Linked DNA regions of Homo sapiens: all the other regions are linked to region 5. The links are contacts of gene promoters, found by promoter capture Hi-C in blood cells and fetal thymus (Javierre and others, 2016). All regions are on one chromosome and are shown on one strand. Each heading gives the region's core, a stretch centred on a gene start or on the middle of the fragment in contact. The rest is flanking DNA. Distances are from core to core; before and after follow the strand shown. Region 1 overlaps RGS10 (regulator of G protein signaling 10). Region 2 overlaps GRK5 (G protein-coupled receptor kinase 5). Region 3 overlaps TIAL1 (TIA1 cytotoxic granule associated RNA binding protein like 1). Region 4 overlaps CACUL1 (CDK2 associated cullin domain 1). Region 5 holds the start of EIF3A (eukaryotic translation initiation factor 3 subunit A).

The links. Contacts are between HindIII fragments. The CHiCAGO score rates a contact against its expected background, and 5 or more counts as called.
Region 1: a fragment that was not itself captured here is called in contact with the fragment with the promoter of EIF3A in region 5 in 11 of 17 cell types (erythroblasts, activated CD4 T cells, total B cells and 8 more); the score reaches 10.6 in erythroblasts.
Region 2: a fragment that was not itself captured here is called in contact with the fragment with the promoter of EIF3A in region 5 in 2 of 17 cell types (monocytes and neutrophils); the score reaches 7.1 in monocytes.
Region 3: a contact is called between a fragment that was not itself captured here and the fragment with the promoter of EIF3A in region 5, in 2 of 17 cell types (activated CD4 T cells and monocytes). The highest score is 6.9, in activated CD4 T cells.
Region 4: a fragment that was not itself captured here is called in contact with the fragment with the promoter of EIF3A in region 5 in 1 of 17 cell types (M1 macrophages); the score reaches 5.0 in M1 macrophages.

Annotation. Positions count from the first base shown.
Region 1 is chr10:119,520,527-119,523,226 of GRCh38, reverse strand. All of the region lies in intron 3 of RGS10 (regulator of G protein signaling 10), which reads left to right. Among named protein-coding and RNA genes, the nearest start is that of RGS10, 21 kb to the left of the region's middle. The HindIII fragment of the contact is 8,074 bases long and covers 1-2,700 here.
Region 2 is chr10:119,396,257-119,398,956 of GRCh38, reverse strand. GRK5 (G protein-coupled receptor kinase 5) reads right to left here. Exons shown (of 16, transcript NM_005308.3): 4 at 2,185-2,262. Among named protein-coding and RNA genes, the nearest start is that of MIR4681, 20 kb to the right of the region's middle. The HindIII fragment of the contact is 9,117 bases long and covers 1-2,700 here.
Region 3 is chr10:119,578,475-119,581,174 of GRCh38, reverse strand. TIAL1 (TIA1 cytotoxic granule associated RNA binding protein like 1) reads left to right here. Exons shown (of 12, transcript NM_003252.4): 6 at 1,165-1,240; 7 at 2,341-2,449. Among named protein-coding and RNA genes, the nearest start is that of TIAL1, 17 kb to the left of the region's middle. The HindIII fragment of the contact is 5,652 bases long and covers 1-2,700 here.
Region 4 is chr10:118,731,791-118,734,490 of GRCh38, reverse strand. The region is part of intron 1 of CACUL1 (CDK2 associated cullin domain 1); the gene reads left to right. Among named protein-coding and RNA genes, the nearest start is that of CACUL1, 22 kb to the left of the region's middle. The HindIII fragment of the contact is 1,310 bases long and covers 789-2,098 here.
Region 5 is chr10:119,079,421-119,082,120 of GRCh38, reverse strand. EIF3A (eukaryotic translation initiation factor 3 subunit A) reads left to right here and starts at 1,304. Exons shown (of 22, transcript NM_003750.4): 1 at 1,304-1,493. The coding sequence starts at 1,445. RefSeq lists enhancers at 1,090-1,384, 812-1,574 and a silencer at 1,580-1,839. The HindIII fragment of the contact is 5,277 bases long and covers 1-2,700 here.

The DNA.
Region 1 (2,700 bases), core at 101-2,600, 440 kb before region 5:
CCCCAGTGTGAGTCACTGTTCCCATTCGAAGATGCAGGGATATGACTTGAGTGGTTAAGCGGCAGCTCGCCCGAGGCTGGGCACAGTGGCTCACGCCTGCAATTATAACACTTTGGGAGGTCAAGGTGGGTGGATCACTTGAGCCCAGGAGTTCAAGACCAGTCTGAGCAACATGGTGAGACCTTGTCTCTACAAAAAATACCAAAAAAAAAAAAAAAATTAGCTAGACATGATGGAGTGCGCCTGTAGTTGCCCAGGGAGGTCAAGGCTGCAGTGAGGTATGATTGCGCCACTGCACTCCAGCCTGGATGACAAAGTGACACCCTGTCTCAACAAAAAAAAAAAGAATTCAGAGCCACATTTCTGACTCCAGGCATTCCCTAGTGAGTCCCGCTGCCTAGGAAGTAAAACCAGGGAGTAAGCTCTAAATTACTACAAAAAGTGTGGAGGAACATAGGCACTGGGAGAAGTCGCCTAACTGAATGTCTTTGTTTTTTTTTTTTTTTTTGAGACGGAGTTTCGCTCTTCTCGCCCAGGCTAGAGTGCAGTGGCACGATCTCTGCTCACTGCAATCTCCGCCTCCCGGGTTCAAGTGATTCTTCTGCCTCAGCCTACTGAGTAGCTGGGATTACAGGCATGTGCCACCATGCCCAGCTAATTTTTGTATTTTTAGTAGAGATGGGTTTCACCATGTTGGCGAGGTTGGTCTCAAACTCCTGACCTCAGATGATCCACCCGCCTCGGCCTTTCAAAGTGCTGGGACTACAGACGTGAGCCACCGCGCCCGGCCAGTTCTTTTTAATCCTCTGTTGTGCACGTAACCTAACTGGATTTCACAGTCAAACTTATCACATCTGTTCCAGCAGGGAGACCATGGGAGGATTTTTCTCTCTCCATCAACTAAGGCTGTTGAGGAGTCGATACAAATCCCACTCTCGCCTCTGTTGTTTTAATAGGACCTGTGTTGGTTCATTCCTTGACGTGGATTATCCAGCATTCAACAACTTCACATATCCATGTCATTTACTTGTCCGTCTTCTGTGTGGTTTGTCTTCTGGAATCTGGGAGTGGGGGGCCTCTTCTTCCCCACTGTCTCCGAGGGTCTAGACCCATGCCTGACACATGGTGAACTTCCTTCCTCTTTGTAGGATGAAGGCATTCCATTTCCTGGATCCAAGTCCTCTTCTCTCCTGAGTCATTCCCTCATTTTGGGAACAGCACACGAGAATGACTTCTTCCCTCCAGAATGACTCATGAGAGAAGAGCCCAAAACACAGCTGGCAATAGCTTCCTGAGAAGGGGGGTCTGGCAGGTAGGTATGTAAAGACCTTGTTGAGTGGAAATGTTATTTTTTTCCCTACTCTCCTACTTCACTGATAATCTGACAGAGCATAGAATTCTGGGGTGAAACACACTCAGAAGTTTGAAGACATTATTCCTTAGTCTTCTACTTTTGTTGAGAATCAGTAATTTATATGTAAACTGTTCTGTTTTTTTTTTTTTTTCTTTTTTTCCCTCTCTGGGATAGTATAGGATCTATTTTCTTTTCTATTTTTCCCCTTTCCTCCTTTCCTTCCTTCCTTCCTTCCTTCCTTCCTTTCTTTCCTTCCTTCCTTTCTTTCTTTCCTTCCTTCCTTCCTTTCTTTCTTTTTTTTTTTAATGGGGTTTCGCTCTTGTTGCCCAGGCTGGAGTGCAATGGCATGATCTCGGCTCACTGCAACCTCTGTCTTCCAGGTTCAAGCGATTCTCCTACCTCAGCCTCCCAAGTAGCTGGGATTACAGGCACCCTCCAACACACCCAGCTAATTTTGTATTTTTAGTAGAGATGGGGTTTCGCCATGTTGGTCAGGCTGATCTCAAACTCCTGACCTCAGGTGATCCACCTGCCCTGGCCTCCCTAAGTGTTGGGATTACAGGTGTGAACCACCACGCCCAGCAATTTTCTTTTCTTTTCTTTTTGAGACAGGGTCTCACTCTGTCACCCAGGCTGGAATATAGTGAGGTCACGGCTCTTTGCAGCCTGGACCTCCTGGGTTTAAGCAGTCTCACCATGTTGCTTAGGCTGGTCCCAAAAGAAATCCTCTCGCCTCAGCCTCCCAAAGTGCTGGGATTACAGGTGTGAGCCACTCCACCTGGTCAGGATCTTTTCATCACTAGTATTCTAAAACTGTTCAGTCAGGGGCTTTGGAGGCAGAGGCGGAGTTCATTCATTGTGTGAATTCTTTGTGGAGCCATATAATCTGGAAATTTGTAGTTCTGGGAAATGGTCTTATGTTGTTATTGTTATCATCATTTTAGTAACTTTTTTTCCTTCCATTGTCTCTGGTCTCTTTTCCAATGATGACCTTTCACGCCCTGCATTGAGCCCTTAATTTCATGTTTTATTCTTCCTATTTTTTAATTTTTTTTTTTTTTTTGCTTTTGGAGATTTTGACTACATCTTCAGATCCTCCTATTGAGTTTTTTCTGCTTTTTTATTTTTCCAGACAAGGGCCCTCTAGTCTCTTCCTGGGGGGCCATAAGCCTGATATGTTCCTGAACTAAACATATTTCTAATTAACTGTGTCAGGAGAATTTTGCTGGCGCGGGGGGTCTATATTTGGAATTTCCCTGAATCCCTTTATTCGGTTCGGCGTCTCATTCTTGCCGTCCTCTGTGCCTCTCTGTTCCGGAGCCTCCCTGGGTCTGTTTCTTTAGATA
Region 2 (2,700 bases), core at 195-2,694, 320 kb before region 5:
CCTGTACCCTGTTCTTGGCTAAGCCACAAGAGCCTATCCAGACAGCAAGGTCAGGCAAAGGGAGCACTCCGCCCTCACTGCAGATCAGAGCCAGGCCACAGACAGTGGCAGGACAGTGAAGCCGGGTGAGGAGACTACACCCAGGGGAAACACTCAGGGCTCTAGAATCACCCAGACTTGGGTTCAAATTCTAGCTCCGCCACTCACTAGTTGTGTGACTTGGGATGTGACAGCTCCCCTGAGCCTCTCCTTCCTTATCGGTAAGATGGAACAAATATAATCTGCATCCCACAGTGACAGCAAGGACTATAGACAGTGGTGCCTGACACAAGGAGTCCTCAATACATTCTAGTTGCCATTGTTTGGGGGGGACACATGTGACTGGGTAGCCCTATGGGGGCACAGATGAAGCGCTGGACTGGGCCAAGCTGAGCCACCGTGGGAAGATGCCTCTGCAGAGGGTAGCTGAAGACCCCTTCAGCAGAGTGGCCTCTCACGCTATTCAGCTCTGTGGCCTCAGTGGCCTGTCTGTAAATAGGGCAATCTCGTGGATACGCGAATCATCAGAGACATCTCGGAGGCATGTGGCACACCATAGGAGCCCAGCCAGGGAGCTGTCATCATTATGCCCTCTAGGGTGCATGCACCCCTTTAAGCTCAGGGCATGTGTTTATGCCCAGAGTGTCCACACTATCTTGAGTGGTGGCCAGGAGATCAAAAATGTATCTAGCCAGAGCCCCACCAATATGACATCGGCTGCGACTGGGTGAACAGGGACCCTGCTGAGAACGTCTCCTCGTCTGTGTCCACCTGAGAACCTCACAGACAGCAACAGGCCCATATCTGGAGCATAGCAAGGCCCCCAAGGTGGGGGCAGCTGTGCCTACCCAGGGCCACACCTTGTCCAGAGCAAACTAGCCCTATTCTATGCCTAGAAGTGTTTTATAAACATAAATTCTGTCATTTCTGAAAAGTGCAAAAGGGCTGGGGGTGTTTGCAGTTCACAGAAAGAGAAGTGCATGGATTATGATGGATGCAGCAGAGAAACAGCAAGGGGAGGCAACAAGGTGATGGCGACTGTGTGCGCATTAGGAATGCCGTCTAGCAGGCTGTCCAGAGTGGGGCGTGACAAAGGGCAACACTTCTGGGCGTGAGGCTGGTCTCACCCTGCAAGGGCAATGGCCACTACCAACTGCTGATGCTGGAGAAGAACGAGGGCTACATTTGGTGCAAGAGGTGCAGGAGGTTGAGGGGACTGATGGCCAAGACCTTCCACAGGCTGTGGTGACCTCAGTCCACTGGCAGCCTGGGATGGGCACCAGGAGGTATACTCTTCCGGGGAGCTGGTTGGCCCACAGGGTCCTGAGCAGGGTGAAGCCACCACTGGCCCCGGGGGATGGGACACACGCAAAGCTATTCCCACACAGGTCCCATCTCAGGCTCTCAACACCTCCGGGAGGTGAGTCTGACAGGAAGGCCACTTTTAAGAAAGGGAAACAGAGGCCCAGGGAGGGAATGTGGCTTGACCAAGTGGGCAGAACCACTGACACTAGAACACTAAATGGGTTGAGAACACACTTCTGTGAAGGTGAGTCAAGAGGAAGCAGATCTTGGAGAACCGAGGCTGCTGGACCCTGAGGACAATGGTACCCCGATGCTTCAACTATCCAGTGGGTGGCCCCGAGGTGGGGTCGGGGTGGCCCCTGACCCTTCAGAATACTCCAGAATATGTTTCAGAATTCTCTTCATTCTTTGATGTCGTTGGGCACCCCCTTTCCCTCCCAGTCAACCCCCAACACTTCCCCTCCACGCTGACCTCTCAGAACTGCCCTGCTAAGCCCTTCCTTCTGGGCACTTCTCCTGAACTTGGCCAGGCCTCCATCTGCCCTACCACAAATGGTTGGGTGTGGGCACACAGCAGCATGGTGACCCTTGAAGGGGCTGGGCCCCAAGAAGCAGGCATCCCGCCCCTACTCCAGTCCTGGCCTAGACCATCCCCATCTTGGCCCTGCCAGGCTTGGGCACTCTCTGGGGGAGGATGGGAACTGTGATCTCAGGAGGTCAACAACAGCCACCAGCCCAGCACTTAACAGCTCCCCATGTGGCCTGGCACAGACTTAGGGGCTCCTATTTTTGCATAAGGCCTCCTGTGCCACCTGCTGTGGGGTTTGGAAGACTCCTTACCTTTGGGGTGAGGTACTTGGTCATAATTTCCTTCCCTTTCTCTCCCAGTTTTTCATCTGGAGTAACTTCATATTCTGCCTAAAACAGAAGGAGAAAAAAGAACAATAACAGGTTTGCTCATGAGCTTCTTATAGTTACAGAACCTCACAGCCCCTGGAGGAAATCCCCTAGAGGCCACCTGACCAACCCCCTTCTCCTGCAGGTCAGGAAACCGGGGGGGAAGACCTGGCCACGGAGCCCCGATGTTTAGTCCAAACTACTTTGCCCTCTCTCACAGATGCTGGGTCTCAGGATGGCGGTGCTCCATGCAGACTGCACATCAGAATCAGCAGGGAGCCCTGAGCAAACACTGATGCTAGGCCCCACCCTAGACCCATGAAACCAGGCTTTCCAGTGGGCCATGAGGGCTGGCACCTGGGCAGCCGGGGTTGAAGACCACTGACTTAGATGAATCAAAGGAAACTACCAGAAAAATAACAGCCCACCAGACTGGAAGGCTGCCGAGAAGCTGCCTTA
Region 3 (2,700 bases), core at 79-2,578, 500 kb before region 5:
TCAGTTTATTTTGTATATTTCCTGTAGATTTAAATTAAACATCTTAGTACTACTTTACAGGAAAGTGTTTCAACTAAGAACAACAATATTTTCTCTATACAATTTGTTGTTCTATAGATTTAATTTCTTTAAAAGATGTAATTCTTAACTTTCTGTTTTGATATTTGCTTTGCTTTTTAATCTAAATGTGGTAAGTAGTACTATTTTAAAAATCAATATAAAAATAATACAGGTTGCTGTTTTTCAATCTTTATTTATACCTGAGACCTGCAGTTTTTCTTAAGTCCAAGTCACAATTAAAAGTAATAGCATTCTGGTTATTTTGCAGAATTGCTCATAAGAATGGACAGGATCTTGAAGGCTAACTGCAAGGAACTGTGCACACTGGAACTCAGTTGTAGATTTTTTTTCTCATTTCTATTTATTCTTATTATACATTATTTATATATACATATTTTAGTATTTACATTTTAACATTCTATATTCAGTGGAGTTCTATATTTCCAATCATTTAACTTACTCACTAAAATTTCTGTGTAAATTTGTTGTTTTCGTACTGGTGTGCTTAGCATTGTTGTTAGTTTTTTATTCTCCTTTCTTAAATTTCTGAAAATGTCAATTTTTCAAAATTTACAGCTGCCCAAACTCCAAAATGATGGTAGAGAATTGACCAAGAAAAATAAAGAAATCTGTTAACAGGCCATGTATGCCTTTTTAATTCCTATTTTTTCCTCTTTTTCAATTTTTTAATATTTCATATATTTTGTATCACTAGGCAGAAGACATTTAACTATTTAGAGATTGCATGGTAAAGTAGTTAGTATTGTTACAGTAATTTATAGAATCAGTAAACCTTAGAGGACACTAGTAAATAGAATATTAGAAAGGGAAACTGTTGTTCCTATTAATCTTCAAATTTGAGCATTTAGTTTAGAAAGCACAGGCTATTTGATTAGGTTGCATGTTTATTACATGTTTTTGTCCTACTGCTTTTTTCTAACAGGTAAAGAAGCATTAGGGAGAGTTCAGGAATGGTTGTAGTTAATTAGGGCTAACTGGAATTTTATTTTAAAAATGCTCACAATACAGTGTGTGTGGTTCCTTTTAGTTTTTATTTTGAGGGTGGCTCTTACTTCCCTCATTTAGCTGTGCTTCTTTTCACAGGGATGCCCGGGTAGTTAAAGACATGGCAACTGGAAAATCCAAAGGCTATGGTTTTGTATCTTTTTATAACAAACTGGTACGTTCTTCCATCTCAATTTATATTTTTTAATACTAAATTTAGTCATTAGTTACTTAATGTATTGAATCTGAAACTTGAATATACTTGAATGTTAACTACAAACACAACTTTTATGTAATGTTATGTATGTTTTAATAATAGAGTATAATTTCATTCCTCTTTCATAAACTCGAAAATAAATAGCTAGAAAAAGAATGATTATACTATAAGGAAGATTATTAAAATTGTGTTTGTACATTGGTAAAGGTCAGATGGATTTAGAAGTAAAGCCCAAGTCTAGGACAGATGAGCTAATCTGAGAATTTAGAGGTTAGGTAAATTATATTCAGTTTTAACCATGAAAATCTCAGTTTTAACTCTACCTTTTAAATTATTATTCATACTCTTATATAACTGGGATGTGAATGACTACAACAAATTATGTAAATAAAAATTTAAGCAATTCATCTTGATTTTTGCATATATTCTTTGTAAAAGGGGTACCAAAGTAAGCATTTGCATTAACTGTAACATTAAATAATAAAGTGGGCTTTGATTTTAAAGCAGTTTCAATAACTTAAATCAATGTTTTGTTTTGTTTTGTTTTGTTTTTTTGAGATAGAGTCTCGCTCTGTTGCCCAGGCTGGAGTCCAGTGGTGCCATCTCAGCCCACTGCAACCTCCACCTCCCGGGTTCAAGCGATCGCGCTGCCTCAGCCTCCTGAGTAGCTGGGATTACAAGCATGTGCCACCACACCCAGCTCATTTTTATATTTTTGGTAGAGACATGGTTTCACTTGGGTTCGCCAGGCTAGTCTCAAACTTCTGATCTCAAGTGATCCTCCTGCCTTGGCCTCCCAAAGTGCTGGGATTACAGGTCATCTACATTTTATTGAAGTGGTAAGATAAAGGGCCAGAGTATTCTGTTTTTGCTTAGATTGAATCTCAAGTTCAAATCGTTTTCTAATTGGTAATAGTTCAGTTTCGTTTTGTTTAGGATATTTAGTAAATTCATCTACTGATTTGTATGGAACCAGCAGCGCCGATATTTTATTTCATCTTACAGAGTCTTATTTATCACTCTTTTCTTTGTGATTGTGCTTTCTTTTTTATCCATAGGATGCAGAAAATGCGATTGTGCATATGGGCGGTCAGTGGTTGGGTGGTCGTCAAATCCGAACCAATTGGGCCACTCGTAAACCACCTGCACCTAAAAGTACACAAGAAAGTAAGATATGTCCACTGTGTGTGTTAAAATTATATTCTTCACAAAATCATGTATCATGTATTCATCTAGTCTCAATTTCTAATTTATTTATGTAAGAGACAGGGTCTTGCTCTGTTGCCCAGGCTGGAGTGCGGTGGCATGATCTTAGCTCACTGTAGCCTGAAACTCCTGGGTATAAGTGATCCTTTCACCTCAGCCTCCTGAGTAACTGAGACTACAGGGACATGCCACCATGCCCAGCTAATTTGTAA
Region 4 (2,700 bases), core at 194-2,693, 350 kb after region 5:
TTTAGTAATTTAATGGTAACTTACTTTTGTTTAGGTTTCATACTTTAATTTTGGCTCTTACTTGCTGATATTGCTCATTACATACAGAAAAGGAATTTAGTTAATTATCTAAAAAGTAAAATTCAAGGAATTCTTTACCTCATTGGAAGTCTGTATATACTCTTTAGCCACGTATAATATACATTGAAAAGACTGGCACAGTACACTGGCACAGCCGCAATATACTGGTGGTGAAATTATGAGTGATTTTTATTTCCTCCTTTTGCTTATGTATTTTCTAATGCAGGCTTCATACTGAACTGTAGAAATCAAGAAATAAAAAGTTGAAAAGTATTGTCTAAATAGGCAGCCTTGCAGATCTCCTAAGATCCTGTCATGCTGCTCTGATCTTAGCATTCTCATTTTAAAGTAGTAAATCAGCTATCTTCTACACATAGCATGAATTTTGGCTACTCTTTTGTGTTTTGTTTTGTTTTTGAGACAGTCTTGCTTTGTTGTCCAGACTGGAGTACAGGGTTATGAACATGGCTCACTGCAACCTTGACCTTTGGGCTTGAAAGATCCTCCTGCCTCAGCCTCCCGAGTAGCTGAGACCACAGGTGTGCATCACCACGCTCGGCTAATTTTTTTTTTTAAGTTTTTGTAGAGGTAAGGTCTTACCATGTTTCCCAGTGTAGTCTTGAACTTCTGGGCTCAGGCGGTGCTCTCGCCTCGGTCTCCCAAAGTGCTGGGATTACAGGCATGAGCCAGTGCGCCTGGCCTACTTTTTCTTTTGGTGAGTGTAAGCTTTTCTATGGGCAAAGTTGAAAGTGATTACATATCTCTTAACAAGAGGATCTAGTTTTTAAGTTCAAGATTACACACACACTCTGAGGCTATATGTGTCAGATGTTAAACTGAACAAATAGCTAGGAGTTTTTGTTTTTTAAACCAAGGATTGCGTTGAGATAAGCAAGTAAATAACAAATATCTTGAAGTTTCCTGGATTGTCATTTTAAGTGTTGACTGCAGATGGTTATGAAGAACCTTCCTGGGAAGAAAGTTATGTTAGCTAGCATATAAGGTTACTGAATTGGCTTTCTATTTACTATTCAGGTAACATAGATGTATATTGTATATAATAAATAATACGTGTGGAAATAGAAACTGCTTTTTTTTTTGTGTGTGGAAATAGGGTTTAAGATTCTCTACTGTGACACATGCCTTTTTCAATTTGGTTTTTAAGTCTCTTTTCAAAGATATTTAAAAGCATCAGCAGTCACTGTTTCTGTAGTGAGTCCCCATTCTGTACTTAGAACTGCAGGACTTTACATTTTGGTTTCTTTTTCCTCTTCTTCATATCTTTGACTTGGTGATTTGCTAAAGTGCGAAGCCTGTGCTTGAGAAGTAGGAGTGCTCCCAGCTGGAGCCATAGCATGTGGTTTATTGAACTAAGCATTTTAGGAGCCCAGAAGATAGGTATGTTAATTACTGGTGTTACTACTTGCAGTTTTCTTTTTGAGCGTGTTATCTAACCTTCAACTCTCAACTTTCGGTGTAGAGAGGTATTTCATGTGGTTTAGGTGGTACACTGATAAGGGATTCTGTAACTCAGAATCACACAGTGAGAATGTAATTTCTTTTTCAGTTTTCTTTGAATCCTAAGGATTACATAAATACAAAGGTCATATTCTAGAGCCTAGTGTGTAACACTTTTCAGTATCAAGAGCAAGACGGTGACCCTGGGAAGCAGCTCTAGGGGGATTGGGGAAGTGAGGCAGGGAAGGTAAGGAAGCCAGTAAGGTAAAGTCACCACTGTAGGCAGCTGGAGCTTAGTACCAGTGGGGAGCTCTGGGAGTCAGTATAGCACAGGGGCCTTAGAGTCGCCTCACCCAAAAGGAGAGGGAGCTACTGGTGGTAATGACACTGAATCCTCAGTAGTCATTGGTTGAAGGCTGCTTTGGGGTTAATTCTCCCACAATTTCTTACCTGCTCCTCCCGCAAGCAGAGCAAGCTCTGGCAGCTGGACAGAACATTGAGAGAAGTAGTCGTAGGGTGTGGATGGGGTAAATGGGTGGGGCACCAACAGTATCTGCTATGCCCGCTGGACAGCTAAGCTTTTCGTGCAGTCTTCCTCATTTTAGTAAACGACAACCCCATCCTTCGGTGCTGAAGCCAAAAACTTTGGAGCCACTCGACCTTTCTTTCACATCTCACATCTAATCTATCAGCAAATCTTGTTGACTCTGTTTTTAAAATATCTTCAAAATCTGATCTCTCCTTATTGTCCTCAGTGCCACCATCTGGCCCAACCCCATATCAGCTCACAGCCTCCAAACTTAGTTTACCCTCAGCACAGCTGCTGGAATGATCCATATAAAACCTAAGCCAGATCATGTCACTCCTCTGCTCAAAACCCTCCAGAGAGGCTTCCACCTTAGAGTAAAAGTCAAAGTCTTTACAATGGCCCATAAGGACCTACATGTCTGGCCTCTTCCTACTGTTATGTTTGCGCACGTGCATGTACGGTTCTTTTTGTCTTTAGCTTTACATTAGTCAAAACACTCCTTTATTCCCCATTCCATTCAGTGTGGGTTATGTGATTCATTTGTAATTCGGTTCATTTTTTGTGTTTTGCATTTCATCTTTACCACTACAGCCTTGTTGATTTTTTAAATTTACATAGTAATTTGATGTACAGTTCTTTTGGTCTTGACAAAT
Region 5 (2,700 bases), core at 55-2,554:
TCCTGACCTCAGGTGATCCACCCGCCCCAGCCACCCAAAGTGCTGGGATTACAGGCGCGACCCACCATGCCCGGCCGATTTCCTCATTCATTAATTCACATATCTCGTCTATTAAATGTGTAATACATTGACAATAATCTATTTCACTGCTGCCTTCTAAATTTTCCTTCTGGGCTGGGCGCGGTGGCTCACGCCTGTAATCCCAGCACTTTGGGAGGCCGAGGAGGGCGGATCACGAGGTCAGGAGATCGAGACCACGGCGAAACCCCGTCTCTACTAAAAATACAAAACATTAGCTGGGCGCAGTGGCGGGCGCCTGTAGTCCCAGCTACTCGGGAGGCTGAGGCAGGAGAATGGCGTGAATCCAGAAGGCGGAGCTTGCAGTGAGCCGAGATCGTGCCACTGCACTCCAGCCTGGGCGACAAAGCGAGACTCCGTTTCAAAAAAAAAAAAAATTTTTTTCCTTCTGAGCTCACCTTTATTTCGTACCAAGGGCTTGAGAATTAGATTCGGTTCAAATGGTTTTCAAATTCTAGGTAAAGTACTTCGTCTGCGAACATTAAAATTGTTAAGCAACAATAAAAGGGCCTCTCAGATTGATTTTTTTCACTAACACTAATTTTTCTTAATTTGTTTGTGACGTGCGCTGTATGTAAAAAGTGACGACACTCCTTTCCGTGTGTTTTCAAACACCAAGCAAGTCTGCTGTGCTCCAGGGCGTTTCGCCCTTTGCCAGGTCGCTGTCCCCATTCGCCCCCTCTGAGAGCCTCCATTTCTCAAGGCAATCCCTGTGACACAAACTTTTTACTTTACCAAGATATAAAAGAACCTTGCTTGTTTATTTTAGGCGTCACTCTTCCCCATGATTGTCTCTCACGGTTGAGCGGCGCTGACCTGATGACACCTGCTCACTGCGTTTTCGTTAAACTCAGCATTTTCACGTAGCCAAGACAGGCGATTCCCAGGCTGGATGGGACCTTACTGTAACTGCACGACTCCGCACAAGTCGCTTTGAAAACCAATCTGCAGACGTTTGCTTGTTCTCCAGACAGAAACTCTGACCCCACACTCACCCTTCCCACCCTAATTCTCGCTCGAAGATTGAAGAGCCTGTGAACTGTCTCCCTAACGCTATCCAGGACAGGCCCAAGACGGGAACTGGACCTTGCGCGCCTAGGACTCCGGCGCCGCCACGTCTGTCGGCGTGCGTGACGCCAGCGCGCTTGCGCGCACGGAGACCCGCCCCCTACATCCGGGGCCTGGGCGGCAGCAGGGCCGCCGCGGGGAGGTCACGTGGCTCCTTCCTTTCCGTCTCTGGCCGGCTGGGCGCGGGCGACTGCTGGCGAGGCGCGTGGGACCTTACGCTGGTTCCCCTTCGTCTCCTCTCCCGGCCCGGGCCACTAGAGAGTTCGCTGACGCCGGGTGAGCTGAGCCTGCCGCCAAGATGCCGGCCTATTTTCAGAGGCCGGAAAATGCCCTCAAACGCGCCAACGGTGAGTAGCTGATCGGGGCGCGCCGGGCTGGGGCGGCCCGAGGCCTCCGAGGTCGAGAGCGCGGGCCTGCTTCCCACTGCTCCGCCGCCCGGCCCGCGCGGGGAGAGGAGACCGATGCGGCCTGCCCGCCGCTGTCCCAGCCGGTGGTTGGGCATGGGTTTCCTTCTCACTCTATCGACTGGGGTCTGGGAGGCGCGTAGCCCGGAACCGTCGCCCCAGGGGCCTTTCCTTCCCCCTGCCGCCTCCGGGTGCGTCGCGGGGACCGCAGCCCGGGAGACAGCCCCTACCCGGACTGGAGCTCCCTCCTTGCTGCCTGCGTCCTCTGGCTCTCCAGGTCCCTGGGGCTTTGGTCTGCTTAGGGCCCGCGTCCCCGGCCGCCATCTGGGAGTGCCGGGGAGTAAGAAACATGGCTCCCTCCCGGGGACAATGCACGCGAGAGCCTCGGCTCCACCTCCTGCCCGGGCCGGGAGCCCTACGGACCCACCCCCGGCCTTCCCGCAGCCACCCCCGCTCTCCAAGCCGCGCTCAGTGCTTTGCTGGGTCGGCGTCCACTTACCCTTTACCCAGCTGCTTTATATCCACTTAGGGGCCTCTGACCCATTTAACCTGATTCCTGTTGTTTTGTTTTGTTTTTGTTTTTTCATTTTTCCTGGCATTGATTAGAAGCAGTCCTAAAGCCTGTTTCGAATCACTGGAAGTTGGAATAGAGTTAATGTAAAGGGACTTCAGGTCGCCTCTTAAAGATAACGAAACAGGCCTAGAGAGAGGTTTCCCCAAGGTCACTCCGGGAGTTGTTGAGCCAAGAGACTTAAAACCAACGTCTCTTGACATCCAGATCAGTCCTTTTTTCTCTTTTTTTCTGCCACAGTGCTGCTGTCTGCGATTTCTATTTCTATATGTGTACTTCAGCCATTGGCGCTTGAGGGAAAAACTTGTGTGCCCCGATCTCTCCAAGGCATTTATTACATTGGCGTTCTGGGGATGCACATGTTCTTGGCTAGGCTCTGGGCTTAAGAAACTTTGTGTAGGGTTTTTTTTTTCCCCTCTAACCGGACAATTTTTCTAATCGTTAGGGCATGGATAGCTCTTATTTTCATCCTTCCTTCACCGAAATAGAAGTTTCGGGTTTTACCCATGTTGTAGATGAATATACCTTGTGAGTTACAGTTTTATGTTTGGAGAGCTTATTTTGTTAGCTTCTTTGAAA